Linked DNA regions of Homo sapiens: regions 1, 2, 3, 4 and 6 are each linked to region 5. The links are contacts of gene promoters, found by promoter capture Hi-C in human tissues and cell types (Jung and others, 2019). All regions are on one chromosome and are shown on one strand. The core of a region is centred on a gene start or on the middle of the fragment in contact, and the rest is flanking DNA. Distances in the headings are between cores, read along the strand shown. Region 1 overlaps XPO5 (exportin 5). Region 2 overlaps BICRAL (BICRA like chromatin remodeling complex associated protein). Region 3 overlaps TJAP1 (tight junction associated protein 1). Region 4 has its middle 4.7 kb from the start of PEX39. Region 5 holds the start of CUL9 (cullin 9). Region 6 overlaps UBR2 (ubiquitin protein ligase E3 component n-recognin 2).

What was found. Contacts are between HindIII fragments. The study calls those that stand out against the background at their distance.
Region 1: a fragment that was not itself captured here is called in contact with the fragment with the promoter of CUL9 in region 5 in 1 of the 25 tissues and cell types used here (mesenchymal stem cells).
Region 2: a contact is called between a fragment that was not itself captured here and the fragment with the promoter of CUL9 in region 5, in 1 of the 25 tissues and cell types used here (spleen).
Region 3: a fragment that was not itself captured here is called in contact with the fragment with the promoter of CUL9 in region 5 in 1 of the 25 tissues and cell types used here (lymphoblastoid cells).
Region 4: a fragment that was not itself captured here is called in contact with the fragment with the promoter of CUL9 in region 5 in 1 of the 25 tissues and cell types used here (dorsolateral prefrontal cortex).
Region 6: a fragment that was not itself captured here is called in contact with the fragment with the promoter of CUL9 in region 5 in 2 of the 25 tissues and cell types used here (lymphoblastoid cells and spleen).

The regions. Positions count from the first base shown.
Region 1 is chr6:43,531,636-43,534,335 of GRCh38, reverse strand. It overlaps XPO5 (exportin 5), which reads left to right. Exons shown (of 32, transcript NM_020750.3): 21 at 329-429. It also overlaps a transcript of POLR1C not described here. Among named protein-coding and RNA genes, the nearest start is that of POLR1C, 16 kb to the right of the region's middle. RefSeq lists a silencer at 834-1,034. The HindIII fragment of the contact is 3,986 bases long and covers 1-2,700 here.
Region 2 is chr6:42,851,874-42,854,573 of GRCh38, reverse strand. BICRAL (BICRA like chromatin remodeling complex associated protein) reads right to left here. Exons shown (of 13, transcript NM_001393499.1): 7 at 2,377-2,482; 8 at 836-936. Among named protein-coding and RNA genes, the nearest start is that of RPL7L1, 26 kb to the left of the region's middle. The HindIII fragment of the contact is 4,425 bases long and covers 1-2,700 here.
Region 3 is chr6:43,489,145-43,492,091 of GRCh38, reverse strand. All of the region lies in intron 2 of TJAP1 (tight junction associated protein 1), which reads right to left. Among named protein-coding and RNA genes, the nearest start is that of TJAP1, 13 kb to the right of the region's middle. RefSeq lists enhancers at 1,261-1,855, 1,856-2,449. The HindIII fragment of the contact is 8,583 bases long and covers 1-2,947 here.
Region 4 is chr6:42,894,127-42,896,933 of GRCh38, reverse strand. No RefSeq gene overlaps it. Among named protein-coding and RNA genes, the nearest start is that of PEX39, 4.7 kb to the right of the region's middle. The HindIII fragment of the contact is 6,847 bases long and covers 1-2,807 here.
Region 5 is chr6:43,180,930-43,183,629 of GRCh38, reverse strand. It overlaps CUL9 (cullin 9), which reads right to left and starts at 1,434. Exons shown (of 41, transcript NM_015089.4): 1 at 1,381-1,434. SRF (serum response factor) reads right to left here. Exons shown (of 7, transcript NM_003131.4): 7 at 2,124-2,700. RefSeq lists silencers at 1,234-1,283, 1,304-1,443 and an enhancer at 1,694-1,763. The HindIII fragment of the contact is 4,480 bases long and covers 89-2,700 here.
Region 6 is chr6:42,691,849-42,694,548 of GRCh38, reverse strand. UBR2 (ubiquitin protein ligase E3 component n-recognin 2) reads right to left here. Exons shown (of 47, transcript NM_001363705.2): 47 at 1,044-2,700. Among named protein-coding and RNA genes, the nearest start is that of PRPH2, 29 kb to the left of the region's middle. The HindIII fragment of the contact is 3,806 bases long and covers 1-2,700 here.

The DNA of each region.
Region 1 (2,700 bases), core at 126-2,625, 350 kb before region 5:
TATCACTGGTGGTCAAAAAACTCCTGGGACCACCTCAGATTTAAAAGAATTTTGCTTTCTAGCTTTGGACTCTGATACTGTCCTGTGTCTTGGGGTTTAGTTCTCATGTTAATTTATCTTAGGTATTGTATACTAAGATAATTATATCTATACAAGTCTGTTCCCTCCTCCAGCGAGCATTCAGATATTTATACCTTCTTTTCTTTCCCCTGCCAGGAGTTGATGGGCAGATCTGTGTGAAACTGTAGTATCACTGGATTACAAGCAAAACCCACTCTTTCCTTCTGCATCAGATGGAAAAGCTCAATAGCATTCTTGTTTCTTTCAGAACCCACAATACATTATATGCACCAGAAATGCTAGCCAAAATGGCAGAGCCTTTCACCAAGGCTCTGGATATGCTTGACGCGGAAAAATCTGCTATATTAGGTAAGAAATGTAACCTTTTTTCTCCTAAGGTTTATCTTATCCCTAATGGATGTCCCCTTTTTTTGTTGTTTTTTAAGAGTCATAGTCTCTGTCACCCAGGCTAGAGTGCACTGGTGCAACCATAGCTCACTGTAGGCTCAAACTCTTGGACTCAAGCAGTCTTCCTGCCTCAGCCTCCCGAGTAGTTGGACCACAGGCAGATCACAACGCCAGACGAACTTTAAAATTTTTTTGTTGAGACAGAGTCTTGCTATGTTGCCCAGGCTGGTCTTGAACTCTTATCATCAAGCAGTCCTCCCACCATGGCCTTTAAAGCACTAGAATCCTAGTGATTACAGGCGTTCTTATGGGTTCCTTGAGCAGCTTCAGCCTATCTTGTGCTTCTTCCATCTTGTCTTGCACTGCCTTGACCATCTATTTGTTCAGAAATGCAGAATGTGGAGTTCCTATAAGCTCTATATGAACAAGTGTATTTACTTCATTATCTTAGCATACAGAGAAAATCGAAGGCAATTTATTTTTTTTCCCCGTTAACCCCTTCTTCAATTTAGCCAGTAGGTTGTGGTGGGTGTTACAGCCATTCAATTATAAATAAATCATGGCCTTTAACCTGAAGGATATTTGTATACTTTCCTGCCTCCTCGTGTGTGTGTGTGTGTGTGTGTGTGTGTGTGTGTGTGTGTGTGTGTGTGTAGATAGGTATCAAAGTTTTTAAAGGAATAGATTTTAAGCCATTTCCCAATTGTTACCTTTTTTGTTTTGTTTTGTTTTCTTGAGAGAGTCTCACTCTGTCACCCAGGCTGGTGTACAGTGGTGCAATCTCAGCTCACTGCAACCTCTGCCTTCCAGGTTCAAGTGATTCTCCCACAGCCTGCTGGGACTACAGGCATGCACCATCACACCCGGCTAATTTTTTGTATTTTTAGTAGAGACAGGGTTTCACCATGTTGGCTAGGCTGGTCTCGAACTCATGACCTCAAGTGCTCTGCCTGCCTTGGCCTCCCAAAGTGCCAGGATTATAGGCATGAGCCACCACGCCTGGCCTTCCAGTTGTGACCTTGTTAGGATACTGCTTTAATTCATTTTCCCATTGAAAATAAGCATGAAAATAACTGTGCAGTCATAATTGTGGTATTTGCTGTGAAGGAAAGTGGCAGGGCTCTGAGTGTTTATCGGGAGACCTAACCCAGTCTCAGAGGGAAGTCAGAAGGCTGACTCCCAATGGGGACTTGAAGGATGAGTACGAACTAGCTAGGTTAGGGGCATGAGGAAATGCTGGGCATTCTGGACAAACAGAATGGCAGGTATAAGATCTGAGGCAAGAGAAAAAGGCCTTGGTATGTCCAGAACATAGAGATGGTTGAATCATGTGGCTGGAGCACAGGGAGCTAGTCTGGGAATGTGGGATGAAGTTAGAGCTAGAGGCATCAGTTGTCTAAACCTTGTTCCCATCTCAGAAGCTTCAGGCTGGCTCACCATCACAGCCCCCATAGTTTGTCTTTGTCATCAGCTATAACCTGTGTCTGAGCCCGGCTGTGGTCAAGCAATCCAATGGCATTCCTCAGCTGTGAAGTTAGCCAAAGGAAGGATGTTAATTTGCCTTTCCAGAACTCATGTCTGTCTGTTTCAGCCTAGATAGTCCTGAATCTTTTCCTTTGACACCATTCCATTTAAGGGTTATGTTGCAGACACCAGTAAAAGTAGAAATTCCAAGAAATGTATAGCTATTAATATAAAAAGTAGGTGTTGCTTACCACACACCCCCATGCCATTATTCAAGTTAAGTCAGGAACTCCTGCTATAGAAATAAGTGGCCAACCAGAAATACTAGAATGGACAAACAGTTCCCACAGATAGCTTCTGACTATAGGACTCGAAATGTAAAACCTCTGATTACACTTAAAAATATAGATATTTTAAGGCAGTTTTTAATACTAAGGTAAGTGGGTTTCATTTTTAGCTGCTACACATCTTAGTGTTTTGTGTAAGATTTTGCTTAAAAAAGGGGTTTCATAACTTAATTGTGGGAGCATCCCCAGAGCTTTATGGAAAAATACTTTTGAGTTGTCACTTTTTTTGGTACAGGTTCCATCTGGGGGAAAAAAAAAAGCAGATAAAAGAGTACCCGGGTCTAAAGTCCTGGGTCCTTAAGTAGCTTTCACCTTCTCCTACCAAAAGAGTGCAGCAAATCACGTAGCCAACTGCTTTGCAGTACAGCACCAGACATGCACACATCTTCACCCCTGAACAACAGCTTCCTGCTGTAGAGTG
Region 2 (2,700 bases), core at 54-2,553, 330 kb after region 5:
TGCAGCACAGTCTGAGTGACAGGGTGAGACCCCAACTCAAAACAAAACAAAAACAAAAACAAAAACAAAACAAAAAACCCAGCTGGACTAGACAGGGCACAGTGGCTCACACCTGTAATCCAGGTACTTTGGGAGGCTGAGGTGGGTGGATGGCTTGGGCCCAGGAGTTTGAGACAGGTGTGAGCAACATGGCAAAATCCTATCTCTACAAAAAATACAAAAAAACAGCTGGGCATTGTCCTAGCTACCCAGAAGGCTGAGGCAGGAGGGTCACCTGAGCCTGGGAGGTCAAGGCTGCAGTAAGCTGTGATTGCACTACTGCATGCCAGCCTGGGTGACAGAGTGAGACCCTGTCTCAAACAAAAACCAAAAAGTTGGACTTTAAAAAGTGTCAAAGTTGGGTCAAAAGACCGTAGGGATGGCCTACTTCCTATACGCCTGGTTACTACTACAGAAAAACAAAAATCCCTCAGTATAACTAAGAAGAAGAGATTCGCTTTGATATAATAGTGAACGATATCACCTAGTAGTAAATGACATTTTTTGAGTGCCTAGTATGTACTAGCTGCTGGTATATTACTAATTCATGAGGAAATGATGGATTAATGAAGCACTGTAAACATGTCAGAAATAGAATAGACATTCATCTCAGAAACATAAACATAACAAGGCCCAGCCCACCAGGAAGGTCTTCAATGACCACCCTGTTGTGGGCACACAGGGGACTGGGTGGACTGTGCACACAAAGCTAGCCAGCAACCACAAAGATAGCACGACTACATTTTCATTCAATTATGCCGAACATTAGGAAGAGGCTATGCCAATAGTTTTCTACCTGCACAGCTGGATGGCCAGGAGATGATCCAACTACTTTTTCCTGCTGTGGTTGTGCGGTTCCTAAGGATGCGGATATAACTTTGCTTCCAGAATCCTGCCCTATTAGAATTAATACATGAGACAGTGTTCAAAAGAAACAGTAAATTGGGTCCATCATATAACCCTAGAACCCAATGGGTACAGACTGTTGAGCATTCTGAAACGGGTTTCTTTATCATGGCTGCTTGCTGTGAAGAAGGAGGGCAGGGTAGTGCATTTACTTACAAGCTCTAAAGGAAGAGGTTATTAAAGCCTATTTAAGTAATAAATAAGTAAATAGTAATAAATAGAAGCTCCAAATGCTATAGTTTCAAATTATTTATAGTCTGAAAAACAGGCCTCAAGCCAGTAATCTGTCAGCACTACAGAATCCCAAAATACAATTTAAGGAAAGGGAGGCCCAAAGAGGCAATTGACTGGGAATATTCAAGCTTTTTCTCTTTCTTGCCTTTTTTTTTTTAAGTACTAATTGGGTACTGCAGATGTTCAAAGCCTTAGAAAAAACGGAAGACATAGTCCATAATATTTTCAGTCTGGGTGGAGAATTCCAAACATGCATGTAGAGAGCAACATGGGGATAATTTCAAAGTCACAAGTACTGTAAAATACCTTTTCTTTTTTTTTTTTTTTTTTGAGACAAGGTCTTGTTCTGTCGCCCAGGCTGGAGTGCAGTGGCGCAATCATAGCTCACTGCAGCCTCGACCTCCCAGGCTCAGGTGATCCTCCTGCCTCAGCCTCCTGGGTAGCTAGGACAATGCCCAGCTAGTACAGACAGGGTTTCACCATGTTGGCCAGGCTGGTCTTGATCTCCTGACCTCATGATCTGCCCGCCTCGGCCTCCCAAAGTGCTGGGATTACAGGTGTGAGCCACCGTGCCCGGCCTCAATTTATTGTTTCTAAGAAGTATTTTTTTTCCACATAATTTAATGTGTCATAATTTAGATAGAAGTGCTTGTTTTTCTTTTTGGTAGTATAAAAAATGATAGTACATCTTACAATTGATGCTATCTTAGTGGGGTTTTTTTTTTTTTTTTTTGAGACAGAGTCTCGCCCTGTCACCCAGACTGGAATGCAGTGGTGTGATCTCAGCTCACTGCAAGCTCTGCCTCCCGGGTTCAAGCGATTCTCCTGCCTCAGCCTCCTGAGTAGCTGGGATTACGGGCGTGTGCCACCATGCCTGGCTAATTTTTGTATTTTTAGTAGAGATGGGGTTTCATCATGTTGGTCGGGCTGGTCTTGAACTCCTGATCTCAGGTGATCCACTCTCCTTGGCCTCCCAAAGTGCTGGCATTACAGGCGTGAGCCACCGTGCCCGGCCCAATGCTATCTTAGAGTTGATGCAACACAGTATATTATTTGCGGAAAGGATACAGAAAGAAAGGAATAATCGGAGTGGAGACGAGATTAAGCCAGAAAGCTTTCGTGCAGAATGAGGGAGAAAAGTGAGAAGAGCATCCCGTGGTGTTGGGAGGACAGGGACAAACTGAGGAAGCTCCTGACCTGGCAGTGTGGTGCTCAAGAGCCCAGGGATCTGTGCTTGCCTCAGGCCGTCTGTGGTCTTGGGAGCAGAAATGGGGGAAGTCTGATTCAGACATTTTTTCTGAGCCTGTGAAACATGACAAAGATGAAAACATTAATTTCATTTCTAAAGCTTTAACAGATTATTTTAAATACCAACCAAGCCTCTTCATGCCTCCCTGGTACCTTCAGGTTAGATTATAAACAAACCAAAAATTTAATAATTGTATTTTCTTATCACTTCAGGGGAACTGCAAAGTACATCCTTTAACAATCTGCAGGCACACTGAATTTTCCTGATGCCAT
Region 3 (2,947 bases), core at 107-2,606, 310 kb before region 5:
AAGAGCCAGGCAAACCAACCCCTCCCTGCAAAAAAAGAGGGCAAGAAATCCCCAAGGTCATAGCCTGCATTTGACATTAGACCCCATGCCCTCTCCTAAGAAAGGCCAAAGTGAAGGACCGGCCCTCAACCAGGCCTCAACTCCAGGCCCTTTTGCTTTCCTGGTCAGAGCCAAGTCAAGAAAGCCTCCAGCTTGTTAACTCCCCATTTGGGGTCCCTAAACATCTCTGCATTACTGCTAGTCCCCATGAATAATATATAGTACTATAAATGTTTATTTGTACATAGTACACTCATATATAATACATTATAAGCTCAATCCACATGCATATAAATAGGTATTGTTTATTCCTTAATCAACTATCATACATTCACTATTATTAATCATATAATAAAATTCATTTCCACATGGATATTGATCAGTACTATAAATCCTTAATATTGCATAGTACATATATTCATTTATTGGACGTAGTGCATTTTCATCAAGATATTTCTCATCGGGCCAGGCACAGTGGCTCATACCTGTAATCCCAACACTTTGGGAGGCCAAGGCGGGCAGATCACCTGAGGTCGGGAGTTCGAGACCAGCCTGACTAACATGGAGAAACCCCGTCTCTACTAAAAATACAAAATGAGCCGGGCGTGGTGGCGCATGCCTGTAATCCCAGCTACTCGGGAGGCTGAGGTAAGAGAATCGCTTAAACCTGGGAGGCGGAGGTTGCAGAAAGCCGAGATCGTGCCATTGCACTCCAGCCTGGGCAACAAGAGCGAAACTCTGTCTCAAAAAAAACCCAAAAAAACAAACAGATATTTCTGGTCAACATGGATATCCCCCACCAACTTTGGTCTCTTAATCTATCAACCTCCGAGAAATCATCATCCCGCTCAGGAGTGCTATCCTCCTCGCTCCGGGCCCATAACACACCCTCTCCCATTTACAAGCTCCCACCCAGTGCTGGTAGGCTGCTGCCTTCTCTCACCCAGCCCAAGGGGAACAGAATCCACTTAGGCAGCCTTCTGTTCTCAAGCTCCCCCTGTCCAGCCTCCCTAGCACCACACTGCCTCCGGAAGCCGAAGCCACAGTCTATCTAGAGTGACCTGTGTGGAACACCAGGAAACAACAGGCAATCAACTTTCTCATGATCTCCAGACCCGCCTCTCCTTCCCAAGCCTGGAGGGAGAAGGGACTGCGTGGGAGCTTCTCCAAGCCAGGCTGCACGCACCCATCTCCCAGTCTGAGGCCAGGACTTTTTCTGAGCCCAGTGTGGAATCCGAAGCCAGGTCCTGCCCCCACTCTACTGAGGCACCCTTCCCAGCTTTTCATGGCTAAAGTCCACCAGAAACTCCGGATGTGAAAAGAGGTGGGGGGGACAAACTTCACCTCCCAGAGCAACGGTCACCAATGGGAGTGACATCTCACATGGGTCCCTGGTTTGGGGCCCCAGCATTCAGTTTAAGTAGCTTCACTTTTCTGCCCAGGGAATTCCCCAGAACCAGGTCAAGGTTTTCCTCTACCTCCCCAATCCTAAAGAGAACCTTGCAGCTGATCCTAACTTCTTATCCTAGGGTGAGAGTAACAGGGACACTATCCAACCTTCCCTTCTTGATAAAGGGAGGAAATGATCTGATCTAGGAGAAAAGTCCCTTCCCACTCTAGTTCATCTGTCTCTGAGGCATGAGAAGCAGCAGCAGCATGGTAATTGAGGGATCTTCTCAAACTCTGTGCTAAAAGCACAGATTCAACAGAAACTCGAACCAATTCTGTATGAAGGGAGAAGTGAAGAGCACGCTGCTGACTCGGGGAAGGGTGACGGTGGGGGGTGGTCAGTGGAGCCCAGCAGCAGGCTGGTGATGGGCAGGTGGCCGTGAAGGGGGCACATCCCCACCCACAGCAAAGGGAGACTGGGAAAATAGAGGGACGCAGTAGTAAGAACAAGAGAGCAGAGGAGATGGCGTGATATAAGCTAAGGAGGGAGGCAGCCAGGCTGCGGGGAAGGATGGAGGACAGAGGCCCTGCTGGTGGCACCCCAGGGCAGGTTAGCTGGCTGAGGTCAGACTCACAGGGTTAGTGTCTTCTCCCCAACCAGCCAGCTCTCCTGGTTAGTGCAGTTAGCGACAGACTCATGGCAGATGCCCTCCAGGCACTCCATATAAACAGACAGCTTGGTTTGTGAGCAGCCCAACTCCGGAGCTGCAGAGAGAAAGCAGAGGAATGGCAAGCTGCAGGATGCCCAAGGGGACACACTGCACACTGCACTCTCCTGATGGGAAGCATCGCAGACTTACCACCAGACCCTCAGGGGCTTTCTCCCATCCGGAAACCATGCCAGATGGAAGCCAAGCACTCCCCCTGCCAACCAGGGAGGCCAGCTTGCTGACCTCAGGCAAAAAGCCTCTCTGGTTGGTCAACAGAAAGAGAGGACGGCTGTTGGAGAAGGGGCTCAGCTCCTCTATCTCGCCTGTTCCCCAAACACTGCTGCCAGGCTGCACCAGGACTCTGAAAGCTAGGCTGTAAGAACAAAGCCACCCACAGCTGCAGCTGCAACCCATCCCGCACCAGTGCCAGCAGAGTCCATCCCACCACCTCCCACAGGCTCTGAGGGGCTGGGAGAGAAGCAGCCCAAGGATTAGAGGCTATGACAAGGGCTGCGTCGGAAAGCACAGTACAATGGGGCAGTGTGTGCCTGGCCTACAGCTGGGCCAGTCAACAGCACGGGCTGCACACTGCCGCCTGGCCAGGGGTGGCACTTCCCAGGGAACCAGCCCCAGAGGAGCAACAGGGACTATTCTCCCCTCTCAGAACAAGCAACACGAGCAACAGAGCAAGAAGCTCTCCCATCAACGGCAGAAACAACTCTTCCATGAAGCCTCCAGACCACCCTGGGGGAAGTGACACCTCTAGCTCACAGACTGCAAGGCAAATGAGGCAAAAGCAGTGGCATTCC
Region 4 (2,807 bases), core at 8-2,507, 290 kb after region 5:
ACTACTTCTGCAGAACAACATTTTACTGGTAAAAAGAATAGCCCACATGAAGGAAAACTGATTTGGTGGAAAGACAAGAAAAATAAGACATGGGAAATAGGGAAGGTGATAACATGGGAGAGAGGCTTTGCTTGTGTTTCACAAGGAGAAAATCAGCTTCCTGGTTGGATACCCACTAGAAATTTAAAGTTCTACAATGAACCCCTTGGAGATGCGAAGAAAAGCGCCTCTGCGGAGACAAAAAACCCTCAATTGAGCATCATCGACTCGCCAGGTAAATAAAATGGTGATATCAGAAGAACAGATGAAGTTGCCATCCACCAAGGAAGCGGAGCCACCGACTTGGGCCCAATTAAAGAAGCTGACACAGTTAGCTAAAAAAAGCCTAAAGAACACAAGGGTAATGTGAACTCCAGAGAATATACTGCTTACAGCTTTGATTATTATATCAACGGTAGTAAGTCTCCCCATGTCTGCAGGAGCAGCTGCAACTAATTATACTTACTGTGCCTATGTGCCTTTCCCACCCTTAATTTGGGCAGTCACATGGATGGATAATCCTGTTGAAGTATATGTTAATAATAGGGCATGGGTACCAGGCCCCACAGACGATTGTTGCCCTGCCCAACCTAAAGAAGAAGGAATGATGATAAATGTTTCCACTGGGTATCATTATCCTCCTATTTGCCTAGGGAAGGCACCAGGATGTTTAATGCCTACAACCCAAAACTGGTTGGTAGAAGTACCTACCGTCAGTGCCACCAGTAAATTTACTTATCACATGGTAAGTGGAATGTCACTCGGGCCACAGATAAATAATTTAGAGGACGCTTCTTATCAAAGATCATTAAAATCTGGGCCTAAGGGGAAGCCTTGCCCCAAGGAAATTCCCAAAGAATCAAAAAGCCCAGAAGCCTTAGTTTGGGAAGAATGTGTGGCTAATACTGCGGTGGTATTACAAAACAATGAATTTGGAACTACTATAATATTATATAATAGTTATATATTATATTATATTATATACAATTATATTATATATAATTGTATGGGCCAGACTCACTCATGTTTACAGGCCCCATCCATCTGGCCCATTAATCCGGCCTATGATAGTGATTTAATTGAAAGGCTGGACCAGGTTTATAGAAGGCTAGAATCACCCTATCCCTGGAAATGGGGTGAAAAGGGAATTTCATCACCTCGACCAAAGTTAGTTAGTCCTGTTACTGGTCCTAAACATCCAAAATTATGGAAGCTTACTGTGGCCTCGCACTACATTAGAATTTGGTCTGGAAATCAAGCTACAGAAACAAGAAATCGTAAGCCATATTATACTATCAACCTAAATTCCAATCTGACAATTCCTTTACAAAGTTGTGTAAAACCCCCTTATATGCTAGTTATAGAAAACATAGTTATTAAACCAGATTCCCAAACTATAACCTGTGAAAACTGTAGATTGTTTACTTGCATTGATTTGACTTTTAATTGGCAGCGCCATATTCTGCTAGTGAGGGCAAGAGAAGGTGTGCGGATCCCTGTGTCCATGGACCGACAGTGGGAGGCTTCGCCATCTTCCATATTTTAACGGAAGTATTAAAAGGAATTCTAACTAGATCCAAAAGATTTTTACTTTGATTGCAGTGATTATGGGCCTTATTGCAGTCACAGCTACTGCTGCAGCTGCTGGAATTGCTTTACACTCCTCTGTTCAAACTGCAGAATATGTAAATGATTGGCGAAAGAATTCCTCAAAATTGTGGAATTCTCAGACCCAAATAAATCAAAAATTGGCAAACGAAATTAATGATCTTAGACAAACTGTCATTTGGCTGGGAAATAGGCTCATGAGCTTGGAATATCTTTTTCAGTTACAGTGTGACTGGAATATGTCAGATTTTTGTATTACACCCCAAGCCTATAATGAGTCTGAGCATCACTGGGACATGGTTAGATGCCATCTACAGGGAAGAGAAGATAATCTTACTTTAGATATTTCAAAATTAAAATAACAAAATTTTGAGGCATCGAAAGCCCATTTAAATTTGGGAACTGAGGCAATCGTGAAAGCTACTGATGGCCTCACAAATCTTAACACTGTCACTTGGTTAAAAACCATCAGAAGTTCCACTATTGTAAATTTCATATTAATCCTTGTATGCCTGTTCTGTCTGTTGTTAGTCCACAGGTGTATCCACCAGCTCCGAAGAGACAGCGACCAGCAAGAACGGGCCATAACGACGATGGCAGTTTTGTCAAAAAGGGGGATATGTAGGGAAAAGAGAGATCCGACTGTTACTGTGTCTACATAGAAAAGGAAGACATAAGAAACTCCATTTTGATCTGTACCCTGAACAATTGTTTTGCCTTGAGATGCTGTTAATATGTAACTTTAGCCCCAACCTTGTGCTCACGGAAATATGTGTTGTATGGAATCAAGGTTTAAGGGATCTAGGGCTGTGCAGGATGTGCCTTGTTAACAAAATGTTTACAGGCAGTATGCTTGGTAAAAGTCATCGCCATTCTCCATTCTCGATTAACCAGGGGCACAATGCACTGCAGAAAGCCACAGGGACCTCTGCCCAGGAAAGCCAGGTATTGTCCAAGGTTTCTCCCCACTGAGACAGCCTGAGGTATGGCCTCGTGGGACGGGAAAGACCTGACCATCCCCCAGCCCGACACCCGTGAAGGGTCTGTGCTGAGGAGGATTAGTAAAAGAGGAAGGCCTCTTGCGGTTGAGATAAGAGGAAGGCCTCTGTCTCCTGCATGCCCCTGAGAACGGAATGTCTCAGTATAATACCCGATTGTAC
Region 5 (2,700 bases), core at 185-2,684:
AAGCAAGACAGTTTAGGCAGGATAGCAGGGTGGCTGAGGGTTACAGATTAGGACTTAGAAGAATGACATGGGTGGACAGGAAGGACAGCAGCATGTGAGGCAGTGGGATCAGAACATGTGAGGAAAAGTAGGATAGCGGAGGGGCAGGACAGGGAGCATAAATGACAGAGTAAAGCTGCAAGGTGGATGTAAAGGGTGGGCCATGGCAGATATAGAGAATGGAGATGACAAAAGGCTGGGATGTTGGGGCAAATGACTGGATAGGAAAAGTATATTCGAGTCTTGTGAAAGGGGGAGGGCCCTAGGGACCAGATAAAATTATGGGAAAGATGACCAGGTCCCACCCTGCCCTTATACTGCATGTATGGTAAGGATTTAAGTAAGTTAAGTAGATAAGATAGAGGTGGTAATCATGGGGTTAAAGGTAGGAAATGAGGTCAGGAGAGAAGCAATATTCAGAGACTTCAGTATCAGATAAATGTGACTCTGAATTCTGGCTTTCTGTCTCACTGTCTGCATAGTTTGGAACAAGTTACTTAACCTCTGAGCTTGTTTCCTCTTCTGCAAGATGGTAGTAATATTCATAGTTACTTCATGAATTTAGTAGGATCATGTATGTAAAGCACTTGGAACAGCATCTAGCACATAAAGAGTGTTCAGTAAACATAATCTGTTATTATTCTTAGATGGAGAAGGTAGGGGAGTCATCAAATAAATGCAAAGTTATTAAGACCGATTATAAATGGGAGTGGAATAATCAGGAAAGATATGCGTGATATGAAGCAGTGCAGGGGCAACAGGGAATAGTGAGAATAAGAATGGAAGAAGGTAAACCCAGATGAAGATATAGTGGTCAGGGCAGGGGTCATGTTGGGGTACAGGGACAGAAGATGAGAGTAGAGGTGAAGAGGAGGGAGAAAGATGGATGTGGACCTCAATGGAGGTAGGGGTCCACTTAGGATGGGGGGCAAGCCTGGATGGTAGCCAGCGATGTGCCAGCGGGCAACTGATTAGCAGCAGGGGGAAGTAAAAGAATCGGATAGGAGGAGGTAGGAGGTGTAACGTCGGCCTAGAAGAGCAACAATAAACTGAGGTGTGGGGGTGAGCTCTGGACGCATGGATGAGACCAGCAGATAGCAAGGTCAAGCCCAAGCTTGCAGAGCCGTGGGGAGGTGGAGGAGGCCAGCACCGCAGAGGGAACGGGTTTGGGGGGAGGGGGAAGGATGGTTGGGGGCGCGGTCCAAAAAAGCTGAAAAGATCCAGTGAATCTCAGAGAGCAAGACCTGGTTCCCTTCGTCAGCCCCATGGACAGTGGCTAAAGGACCGGGGAGGGGACAGGAGAAGGGGAGGGATTGGGTCGGCGCAGAACTCTCCTCTCACCTCCCACCGCCCGGCTCAGCCCTCGCTGGGACCCAGCGGCCGGTCCCGCCGTCCTGGCCCCGCCTCCTCAGAGCTCCCTTCCGGGTCACACGGCGAGTGCACGCACGGCCGGGCACCTACGGGTCCCACCGCGGCCCACGCCGAGCGTGGCGGAACAGCGCGCGAGTGGAGCATGCGTGCTACCGCGGGCGGCTGCACTGGAAGAGGGGCGTGGGGGCGCGCTACCGGAGGAGCCTGGGATCGAGGTCACGTTGCTCCTCTCTCAGCAGCAGGAAGAAGCCGTTTCCATCCAGTCAACTGTGAAGCCCCCTCCTCTTCACTGGGTCGGCCCTCCTAATCCTCCCTCTCCCATCACAGCGATCATGCTGACGAAACATGGTAACCCACATTCCCACCTTAAGGCTGCCCTTTTTGACTTTTCAGTAGGTCAGGTGCCCATGAGTTTCCCAAACCCTTCAGCAATGCTTTGGATTAGTTGTGTCACTTTTCCTGTTAATTAAAATTTGCTCCTCTGCGTTGGCCTTAACACCTAGCGAAGCCACGCACAGGGAGAAGGTCCTCGGCCCCGCAAAACTTTCCTTAAATTAAATCGTATAGAATTAAACAGCCCAAAGCACACCTTAGCATTACCGTTCTCATCAAGCAGCCCGGATCGCTACTCAGAGCAGCAATTTTAGGAGTTTGCCTCGCGTTCATACCCCCATCCCTCCCTAAGTAGAAAAACAGAACCAAAGACCCCACAGTCTGTGCACAAAAATGATACATTTATTGAAAGAGTATTTTTTTTTAATACAAAAGAAAGCTCTGTACATAGGACTGTGACCATGTCCACTATTCCTGGGTCAGCATCCCAGGGGAAGTAGAAACCACTGACATACACACTCACATTCAAGCACACACACTCACTCAGGCGCACACACCCACACACACATACCCCAGAGCCACCGAGGAAGGGAAACACCAAGGGTCGCTGCACATAAAAATATCACCTCAACTCATCCCTGACACACGCATGTCCTCCCAAGGCCACGCTCACACAACACACATTATAAGCACTTTGCCTGATTCACTCACTGGGTCTGTCTTTTGTGGGAAGGAGAGGAAGAATTCATCAAAGGTCTCCTCCCCATGGGTGGGGGAGTGGGGAGTGAGTGAGTGATGGTGGAGTGAAACAAGAGCAGAGAAAAGGGGCTGGGCAGTTACAGACCTGAGTCCCAAGCTCCCCTGCTCTCTGGCCCCTGATTTGCCATGCCCCAGCCTTGAAAGCCACCCATAAGCCCCAGCTATCTCCAGGAGAAAGCCCAGAAAGGTGACTTCCAT
Region 6 (2,700 bases), core at 109-2,608, 490 kb after region 5:
TCTGTTTGTAAAATATACCTCAATAAATGTGACTTAAAAAACAAGAGTAGGAACAGGCCAGGCACAGTGGTTCACACCTATAATCCTAGCATTTGGGAGGCTGAGGCGGGAGAATCATTTGAGCCCAAGGGTTCAAGACCAGCCTGGGCAACATAGCGCGGCTGTATCTACAAAAAAAATACAAAAATTAGCCAGGTGTGGTGGCATGTGCCTCTATAGTACCAGCTACTGGGAGGCTGAGGTGGGAGGATTGCTCGAGCCCAGAAGGTTGAGGCTGCAGTGAACCAAGGCTGTGCCACTGCACTCCAGCCTGTGGGACAAAGCAAGACCCTGTCTCTTTAAAAAAACCAAACCAAACCACCACCACACCAAAATCAAGAGTAGGAAGACAGGGAGGAGCATGTCAGAAGGGGCTTCATGAGTTCCTGGAACTAAAGACAAGAGTGGTGAAGGCAGTAGGCTGGGAGCAGTGTTACTGACCAGGAGGCAGGGTGAGTGCAATGGAAACCTTGCTGTTTTAGTTTGATGCTCTCAAGAGGATTTCAAAAAAAACAGAATTCTCATGGGCAATGACTCCCCTAGGAAGACAGTGTAGCTGCCTTTCTATGTCTCTCTCTCAAAAGCAGGAAGTGGTCATAAAAAAAAGAAAAAAAAAACCTCCAACAGCCCTGAAAAACCAGCCAGCACACTAGGGGAGTGTGTAAGGACAAGGACCTTGAGATCACCAGGTAAGGATGAACAAGAGTTTAAACCCAGACACAGGTCTTGGAGTGCCCTGTTTCCCAGTGATTTGAGTTCCAAAATGGTCCACAAAGGTCACACGCTGTCATGGCTAATGAATATGAAACTTAATCAGCTGAAATGATGATCACACTTTCTCTGAGAAGGTCAAGATAGTTTGGCTAGTGGCCATAATAATATAACCCTCTTAAATTTAAAGCTAATACAGATATCCCACTATATTTGTAGCAAGGTGACACGGGCACCTTGCTGTGGCAGGTAAATGTGTAAAATGAAACAGAAAGATATATGCTAACCAAAAGTAATGCCAACACCTAAAGCATTTATTTGGATATCTTTAAACTTTTTACATATGATACATTCCAAATTTTACAAGTTGTCCACAGATATTAAAGTTATAGCCAATTTATTAAACAGATATGATTTTCCCTGATATGGAAAGCGTATGTTATATAAACATTTCTACAATAAACATAAAACATGCGGAACAAATCATAAAACTAACATGATTTGTAAGGTAGGAAAGACAACTAGCTTAACACCAGAAAATAAAAAGGTGTGTATGTTGCAATTTCATGTAAATTCATCTTCTCCCAGGCTCTGTGATATTCTCAGAGAATGAAATCCAGAGACAACCTTTGCTAACTCCAGGCTCCTAGGAAGTCGGACCGGAAAGCTGGAGTATTGTTATGATTTGGTGAAAATGTTTATAATCCACTTGTACAGAGAGAAACCTGGTCTTATTATTTTAAATTTTAGCTTGGTGAACATATGAAAAAAAGCCAAAAGAAGCTTACCTTAAAAGCTAAAGAAACTGGATGTGACAGAGGCCAAAATAAACATGAATTATGCCACCTACAGCCCAAACAACCAGATCTTATGAATGAAGGCCAGAAAAAGGGGGAGAGAGGTGGACTCAAATGTGAATTTTCTTTCTATTGGTCCTCCTCTCAGCTGGGTGAGTCAGTCCCACGCAAGAATGGCGACGGTCATCCTCCTGTCAAGAGGGGGCGGTTCTTTCACACACTACCTTGGAGAGGAATGTGGCTTCTACATCCTCACTTCTTTTAGCTTCAGTTCCAGATTTCTGACCTTCTTCCTGTGATACTGTGGAGCATGCCTAGTTGACTGGTAGCTGAGTGGAACAAAACTTGTAGATGTAATTCAAAGAAAACTGATTGAAAGGGTCAGTTGCATTGGTTAAAAAAATCCAAGAGCCTCTTATTACTCATCTGTTCCTTAGCCCCACCTTAGACAGGCTCAGAATTTATTCCTCTACTAAGTCTTCAGTCACTCTCTGCATGTATTCAAGCTCTCAGCAGTCATACATCAAACAATAGTAGTTGTGTGGTACATAATAATTATAAGCTATTTTGTAAGTGGCTCTTGTTCTAGGAAGGCACCTCAGTAAGAACAATGATCAAAAAGAATAAAAAGCCTGGGTGCCAGACCATCCCAGGAATGCACTAAGTGAGCCAGCAAGGAAGCAGCAGCTTGTCTGTTCCAGGAAATGCTGGCTGGGTGGGAGTGGGTTCTCACCTTCTTCAGTGTTTGGCTTTAGATGATATACTCTGCCAATTTAGCCTTAGAAATAACAAGAGAATATCACTGTCTGAAACATTAGGGTATTCTAAAAGAATACAGATAAGAAAATTAGGATACTCTTTTAGAATACCTATTATTTTAAACTTAAGCTTGGTGAACATCTGAAAAAAAGCCAAAAGAAGCTTACCTTAAAAGCTCAAGAAACTGGATGTGACAGAGGCCAAAATAAATATCACTTATGCCAACCACAGCCCAAACAACCAGATCTTATGAAGGAAGGCCTCTCATCTAGATATTAGGATATCTAAAAGAATATCCTAAATTTTTAATCCATATTCTTTTAGAATATCCTAATTTTTCTTCCTAATTCTAAAAGAATATCCTAATTTTTTAGACCATCCTAAGTTTTTGGAA